Linked DNA regions of Homo sapiens: regions 2 and 3 are each linked to region 1. Evidence: promoter capture Hi-C in 16 types of primary human blood cells and fetal thymus (Javierre and others, 2016). All regions are on one chromosome and are shown on one strand. The core of a region is centred on a gene start or on the middle of the fragment in contact, and the rest is flanking DNA. Distances in the headings are between cores, read along the strand shown.

Region 1 (2,679 bases), core at 121-2,620:
CTCAGAGTGAGCCAGGTATGAGGGTGGCTCAGTAAACAGGACCCGAATAAGGCAAATGTCCAGGTCTCACTTTCTCATTGCTGAAGGGGTGTGCGCAAAGGGCAGCAGGTGTGCTCTTGTTAAAAGGAAAGGAAAAGGAGCACTGGTGAGAGGAAGGGGAAGAAAACCAGGCAAAAAAGCATGAAACAAAACAGGAGCGCAGTGGGTCCTCCCCCAGCATGCCCTGCCCAATTCTATTTAAATCAACATTTACTGATTGGGTCACTACTAAGTATCCCGCAGATCTAGCCTGCAGCACCTGAAGAGACAAGGAAATGAGTAAGACGGGCTTCATCTTCAGGAAGGTTTCTTGCCAGGAATCACTGTTGTTGCCATTTTTAATTTTAATGGTTGTAGATAATTCCTGGACAGTTCAAATAACTTCACTGGGGCCCCTCTCCTCCCCCTAACCTGTCCTACTCAGAAGCTCCAGCCCCAGGCATATGAGCCAACCGAACCCTGGGAAAACCAAAGTGTCCTTGTGTGTCCCGCATCACACACGGTACAAAATAACTGTCACCCCTGAACAAGCCTCGCCTCAGAAGTCTAAAACCCAGGTCCTGCATTCAAAATCTATAGACTACCGTCTACAGATTCATCGCGCTTGTTTTTTAAGTAGGGTCATCTAAATTAAAAACAATAACGACTTGAGGACACTGATGAAAGAAACACTGGTTTCATGTATCAGACTACTTCAGAACTTGATTACAGGAAACGAGGCAATCCCAAACTTAAAGAAAAAAAAGTTCAGTAGAACTTGCCGCGCAGGCTGTACCAATATTTTTTCACACTTACAAGGAGAAAAACACTAACACCAACTCAAGAAGGGAAAACACACACACACACACACACACACACACACACACAAAAACCAACTGTCTAGTGTGTGGCTGTAAAATACGCCATGGAGGCGGAGGGACGGTGGCTAACACTTTCGCCCGCCCCGTGCACGCGATCGCTGGGGAGCTGGGGTCGCTGCGCTCCCGGCCTGCAGTTACCTGGTCCAGCGGGATGCCCAGGAGCTCGCTGAGCGGGTGCAGGTAGGTGGAGCCCGTGGTGCGGTAGGAAAGGCTGGACGGCTGCGGCTCTGCTGCCATCCTGCATCTTCGGGAGGTGGCTGCCCCTGTCCCAGCCCGCAACACCCCCTGCTCGGCGTCCTCCCGCCCGGGTGCTCTTGGGTGGTTGCCCCGAGAGGCGCACGGCCGCCTGGTTCGCGGGGGAGCGAACGGGAGGCCGGGGAATGCGAACCGGCGCAAACTCTCGAGGCGCAAACTCTCGAGGCGCAAACTTGGCTTTGGCGCTGGCGCTGCAGCCACGGGCGCCGTAGGAGGGCCGGGCCCAAGGCGCCCCGCTTCCCGCTCCCTTCCTCTCCGCGCCCATTGGCCCGGCCGCTCGGGACGGCCCCGAGAGGAGGGAAGGAGGGAGGAAAAGTGGGGACTCCGAGCCCGGCCCCCAAGCGCCGCCCGGCCCGCCCAGCCTGGCCTGCACCGAGGCCGACCGGGAGAGGGAAAGCGACGCCAGCGGGCGCCGCCGCCTGGCCCTGCAGCTGGAGGCGGGACGCGCCTTTCCTCCTCCCGGGCTGACCGTCCTAGCCCCCCGCCAGACAAAACGACCTCACCCAGCGGGCGCCTTCCACTAGAGAGCACCACCCACCCCGCCCCACCCTGTTTTGGTTTCGCCGCCGCAGTCGAAGCGGCTGAGTGGCTGCGTTTCCCTTTCAAGCCGTAGAGGGTTCCTCTGCCGGTGGCTGGAAGCTGGAGCGCCGCAGCCACCAGACTCCCTACTTCCTTTACCCTCCTCTGCGCTAGGCATAGTTTCCTACACCCTGATCTGACATGTTCGGTGTCACACAAGCAAATACAGGGGACTGCTAGCTTCGGGTCACTTCCGTCTCTGTGGAGTGAGAGTTATTTCACCTCTGTAAGAAACGGTGTTTACTGTCATACTATGTGCATTCTGATAAGTCATTTGCATGCCACGGGTCCTCAAAAAGGGTGCCTTGCTCCTTAACTTGTCTGCCCCCGAACACCCACACATCAATGTTACTTGGAAAACTTTTCCAAGTTATTGCTAGGTTCTGAGAAACATAAAAATCTTGAAGATCCTTTTCAGGAATCGCTAGCTGATGAAAAAGGGTTTCAGGAAGGTAATATTCTGGGCTGCTGGGTAGAAAACCAAAGAAAGTGAGCTCACGTGGCCCCCAGCCTCCGCTGGGTAAACCGGCATTCGATCAGACAGGCAATGACTTTCGGGGCCGACTTTATCAATGTGGCCTCCAGCTTCAAATTAAACCGAAGGCCTGTCAGGCACTGGCAACAACTTACTCTCCAAGACTCAGGCCTCACTCTTGCCTTCTTCAGGAGTTTTATCACCATCAAACTGCACTGAGCATTAAATTGCCAGGCCAGAGTTTCTCAACCTATGTCCCCTGTGGAGGAGGAAAAAAAAAAGTCTGTACCACCACTCCCACAAGCTAACCGAATGGAGATGTCACCACCAGATGATAATCTCTACCACTCACAAGCAAACCCACACTACAGACAGACAGACACATGCACACACGCACACAGGCATATACTTGAGGATCACTAGGCTAGATAGGTTCATTTAATATCATAGAGTCCTGGAAAATGACCAGCA
Region 2 (2,679 bases), core at 122-2,621, 280 kb after region 1:
CAGAGTAAGTCGGGTGGCAATTGTCAGGGTGTGGGAATTTCTTTTCCTACGGGGTACGTGATTTTGTAAAAAGGAAGTATTTCTCCCAAAATTGGGAGTAGGCAAACTACTAATCAGTTTAGCTTTGTGTTGTATGCTAGTTTAAAAAAGAAAATATGTAATATAATGTAAAAAAAAACAAAAAAAAGCTTTTATGATGGATTTTGTAAATAGATTTGTTACAGGGTGACCTGTTCTCTAGCTGTGATCTTACCACTTCAAATGGGTGTAATTTGAATAAATTTTGTATGGTAAAGGATCAATAAAATGATTTTTTTTAAGAGTTCAGGCTTGTGGATGGGTTTTCTTTAATATTATCTTGTGCTCCTCTATTAATTGAATTTTTTTCATTTTCTTTTTCTTTTTTTTTTTTTTGTTTTGTTTTTTGAGGCAGAGTCAATCACTCTCACCCAGGCTGGAGTGCAGTGGCACAATCTTGGTTCACTGCAACCTCCACCTCCCGGGATCAAGTGATTCACCTGCCTCAGCCTCCTGAGTAGCTGGGACTACAGACACCCGCCACCACGACTGGCTAATTTTTGTATTTTGAGTAGAGACGGAGTTTCACCATGTTGGCCAGGCTGGTCTCGAACTCCTGACCTCAAGTGATCCGCCTGCCTCGGCCTCCCAAAGTGCTGGGATTACAGGCATGAGCCACCGCGCCCAGCCTATTAATTGAATTTTTTAAAACATTCTTAAACAAGTTAAGGAGAAAGGCTAAACAAAAGCTTAAAACATCGTTTGCCTTAGACGGTATTTGGGACTCAGAACACTCAGCAAATATTTGGTGACCACTTCCGGTGTGCTCTGCACCCTGTGAAGTAGAACTTACCTTGTCCCTTTGACCATGTGCAGAAACCACTCGGACACTGAGTAATTGTTACACTGAGAAAGTGACAAATTTGACTCCTCGTAAGGGTTATAAAGCCAATACATTTTAATTCTGAAATCTGGTAATTACCTCCCATGTTCTAGATTGTGTATTTCTAGTAATGCCATCTAGGAGCAGATTTGAATTTTTTGACTGCCATGTCACACTGTTAACTCTGAACTTATCATTGAAAAACCTCAAAGTGCTATATATTGTACACACACAAAATCAATATAAAAGGGTATGAAGTTTAAAAAAAAAGGGCAGGGGGGGACGTTACCTGCCCCTCTATGCTATTCATGCCAGAGATAACCACTGTTCGCATTTTTCTTGTATTATCCTTCCAGTCATTTTCTAGGCACATATCTGTGCATGAACATGTGTATTTTATTTTATTTTGTTTGTATTTATTTATTTGTATGAGACAGAGCCTTGCTCTGTCGCCCAGGCTGCAGTGCAGTGGTGCAATCTCAGCTCACTGCAACCTCCGCCTCCTGGGTTCAAGTGATTCTCTTGCCTCAGCCTCCCGAGTAGCTGGGATTACAGGCATGCACCACCACGCCCAGCTAATTTTGTATTTTTAGTAGAGACGGAGTTTCACCATGTTGGCCAGGCTGGTCTCGAACTCTGGACCTCAGGTGATCCACCCGCCTTGGCCTCCCAAAGTGGTGGGATTATAGGGGTGAGCCACCAAGCCCGACCTATTTTGTTTTGTTTTTTGTTTTTTGTTTTTGTTTTTGTTTAGAGACAGGATCTCACTCTGTTGCCCAGGCTTGAGTACAGTGGCACCATCATGGCTCACTGCAGCCTCAGACTCCTGGGCTCTGGTGGTCCTTCCCGCCTCAGTCTCCTGAGTAGGTGGGAATAGTAGGCGTGCACCACCAAGCCTGGCTATTTTTTTTTTTATTATTTTTGTGGAGATGGGGTCTTGTAATGTTGCCCAGGCTGGCCTCAAACTCCTGTCCTTAAGCAATCCTCCCCCATCAGCCCCCAAAAGTACTGGGATTACAGTAAGCATGTGTGTTTTAACATGACTTAACATAAGTCATACCATATATGCTGATCTGAAGCTTTTTATTGCTATGTCACATTTTTCCATGTGAGTACTTGTAGATCGTGTTCATGCTCTTCAAAGGCTGCATACCATTCCAGTGATTTAAAAAAAAAATTTTTTTTTTTTTTTGAGATGAGTCTCACTCTGCTGCCCAGGCTGGAGTGGAGTGGAGTGATCTTGGCTCACTGCAGCCTCTGCCTCCCAGGTTCAGGCAATTCTCATGCCTCAGCCTCCCAAGTAGCTGGGATTACAGGTGCCTGCCACCATGCCCAGCTAATTTTTGTATTTTTAGTAGAGACGGGGTTTCACTATCTTGGCCAAGTTGGTCTTGAGCTCCTGACCTCAAGTGATTCACCCTCCTCGGCCTCCGAAAGTGCTGGGATTACAGGGGTGAGCCATCACGCCTGGCCTAAAAATGTATTTAATAATATACTTAGGTGATTTCCTGTTTGAGAGATAGTTTTGCTCATTTTGCTATTAAAAAAATGTAAAGTTTTTAGAATGCTTGTATGTCAGGTACTATATATTTGATGTGGTATAATTCTCGTAACAAAATTTATCATTAGTAACATTTGATAACATTCACAGTGCTGTATAACCATCACTTCTGTCTAGTTCCAGAAGACATTTTCATCACTCCAAAAGGAAACCTGTGTCCATAAATTAGTTACTCCCTATCCCCGACACCTTGCAGTCCCTGTTTTCTGCTTTTTTG
Region 3 (2,679 bases), core at 65-2,564, 260 kb after region 1:
ACACTGCCTTCTTGGTGCCCAAAGTCCTTAGGGGTGCTTTCTGATGTCGCTGCATAATTTTTCCCTTGTGGGAGCGAGGTTCTGTGAGTCTACTGGCTGAAGCATAGATTGACTGAAATCTGAACTTGGTCTGGCATCGAGGTTTGGCCCAGCACTTTCTTTTTACTTTCATTCTAGCTATTACAGATAACAATAACCAAAGGGTTGCATATTTTGTTTTTTTCTTATTAGTTCGCATTTCTTCATGCATTCAGCAAACCACCTTCCAGGGAGTTAGATTGATCCACCTCTAAATTCCATTGGTAACTTTTACCTTTAGTGACTGATGCCACTCCATACCATGGGTATGGAGCTGCCACTCCATACCATGGGTGACCACATGGGCACCCAGGAATCAAAGGTTTCTCACCCCCCAACCCCTTTATCTGTTTTCTTCCCAAACATGAGCTAGGGATGTTCTAGCAGTCCCGATTCTGACACCAATTCTGAAAATGCTGAGGAATGAACAAACTCGGTTTCTCCCACTATTTTCGCATATTACAGTTGTGACACCAGATGTGTGGGGGGTTTCCCCAGGCATCAAGCAAGCAATTCATTCTGCAGCGGACACTAGCTGGGCGTCCTCCAATTCAATTCTGACACCATCTACCCAGAGAAGTGTCACATCACACAGATTGAGGGTTCAGTCTCACAAGACCACCCCCAACTTCTGATGCCAGTTGCAAGCCCCAGGTTGTTTTACCTGTGCCTCTGGCCAACCTGCTGTAAATCGGGGTTCCCGCGGCCCATTCCTCAGATTCAGTTAATTTGCTAGAGCAGCTCACAGAACTCAGGAAACATTGAGGTTTACTGGTTTATTATAAACGATATCACAGAGGATGCAGATGAAGAGGTGCATAGGGCAAGGCATGTGAGAAGGAGCACGCAGCTTCCATGACCTCCTTGCATGCGTCACCCTCCAGGAACCTCCTTGTGTTCAGCTACCTGGAAGCTCTCCGTACCCTGTCCTCTTGGGTTTTTTGGGAAGCTTCATTATGTTGGCATGATTGATTAAATCACTGGCCATTGGGGATCAACTTAACCTTCAGCCCCTCTCCTCTCCTTGGAGGTTTAGAGATGGGTCTGAAAGTTCTGACCCTCTGATCCTGCCTTGGTTTTTCCAGTGACCATTGTCCATCCTGAAGCCACCTAAGGGCAGCCGGCCTTCATTCAAATCATCAGCACACAAAAAGATACTTCATCTTCTATAGTAAGTGGGCCTACCTTACACCAAGACTGATAAAGTGAGGGGTTTTCTAAACATAGGAGAGAAAGTTCAGGTGCTGGGCACTCAAATCAAGTGACAGATGTTCACCTCGGGCATCAGCACAGTGTATGCAGTGAAGGAAAACTGCAGAATGACAGCCATGCAGCAGACCTGGAGAACCCCTAGCTAGTCTCAGGTCTGGATATCAGGAGGCCAGAGAGCTTCAGGCAGGAGGAAAAGTGGAGATTTGGTAGAATATCTGATATGATGGAGAGTTGGAAAAAATTTGAGGATTTGGTGAGGGCAAATGGTGCCAACGAGCTAGAAAGACAATTGGAAACTCCAAAGAAAACAAACAAGCTTTACAAGAAAGGATATATAGTCTCAGTATATTATTTGATACTGCAGTGAATACTGTTTATACAGTCATGATGTATAGCACTGGTTTTTTATTTAACCAAAACTAATTATGTAACTATTGGGGGGAAATGGAAGAAGTGAGATGGGTATCGTATCATTGAAGGATGTCAGTACATTAGAACTAAAATGGCTAAACCAGAAATAGCTGTGTGAGCATATCACTTAGAGATACAGAGGTGACCACCAGGAGAAATAGTAAAGGTGGTTCCCCCAGCAAGGTAGCCATTATAGGCTCTCTGAGCTAGTGGGTTTTGAAAAACCATGTGCATCTATTTGTTTTTTAATTGTCTTAAATTATTCTTAAAAACAAAATAAGTTTCTATAGGAGGGACCGCAGTCACCAGTTCATAGGTTAAATGGCTTTTATTCCAAAAGTTCTAAGTCAGTGAGATTGCTTTTCCTTTAGAAACATTCATATATATGTGGTTAGATCCCCAAACTAGTCCACAAATACAGGTTATAGTGAAATTAAAATATCCTAGTTTAGAAATCAAAAGAAGAAAAATGACCAACTTTGGAGTCCATTCTAGTAATCCAAGTGAGAAAGGATGGGGATACGGTTGGAGTTTTCTGCACACCTGTTCAGTTCACCAGTTATTCTTCTCTGAGATAGTCTGGTTTGTGATTAGGCTTCTCACCCAGCGGCTCACAGAGGATGCTACTCTCATTAGATTCTGCACTTACCTCTCACTGTAAAAAGCTGGAGAAGACTTTGGAGCCCTTCATCTTAGGTAACCTCGTCAATGACAGGTTGACACTAGGAGTGCATTTAGCTTGGCATGAAAGGGACCATAAGCTGTCCCCCTTCCTCATCATTCTGTACTCAAAGCCCCTCACTACTCACAAGCACCTCCGAACCAGGACTTTTCAAAATCTCTGCTTCTGTTCTTATTTGGACAGCCCATTCAACTCCTCTGACTTCACTCCCTTATCTGCATAACACAGCTCAAGAGCTGTCACCTCTTAACAATCTCTCCAGACCTCTACCCACTTCTCCATGCACCCCTCTTCAT

Evidence for each region. Contacts are between HindIII fragments. The CHiCAGO score rates a contact against its expected background, and 5 or more counts as called.
Region 2: a fragment that was not itself captured here is called in contact with the fragment with the promoter of MBOAT1 in region 1 in 1 of 17 cell types (M0 macrophages); the score reaches 5.2 in M0 macrophages.
Region 3: a contact is called between a fragment that was not itself captured here and the fragment with the promoter of MBOAT1 in region 1, in 3 of 17 cell types (neutrophils, erythroblasts and non-activated CD4 T cells). The highest score is 7.2, in neutrophils.

What each region holds. Positions count from the first base shown.
Region 1 is chr6:20,211,099-20,213,777 of GRCh38, forward strand. MBOAT1 (membrane bound glycerophospholipid O-acyltransferase 1) reads right to left here and starts at 1,371. Exons shown (of 13, transcript NM_001080480.3): 1 at 1,038-1,371. The coding sequence starts at 1,136. RefSeq lists a silencer at 1,177-1,716 and an enhancer at 1,899-2,399. The HindIII fragment of the contact is 5,898 bases long and covers 1-2,679 here.
Region 2 is chr6:20,493,390-20,496,068 of GRCh38, forward strand. It overlaps E2F3 (E2F transcription factor 3), which reads left to right. Exons shown (of 7, transcript NM_001949.5): 7 at 1-325. Among named protein-coding and RNA genes, the nearest start is that of CDKAL1, 40 kb to the right of the region's middle. The HindIII fragment of the contact is 1,213 bases long and covers 766-1,978 here.
Region 3 is chr6:20,467,538-20,470,216 of GRCh38, forward strand. All of the region lies in intron 1 of E2F3 (E2F transcription factor 3), which reads left to right. Among named protein-coding and RNA genes, the nearest start is that of E2F3-IT1, 31 kb to the left of the region's middle. RefSeq lists an enhancer at 1-26. The HindIII fragment of the contact is 579 bases long and covers 1,026-1,604 here.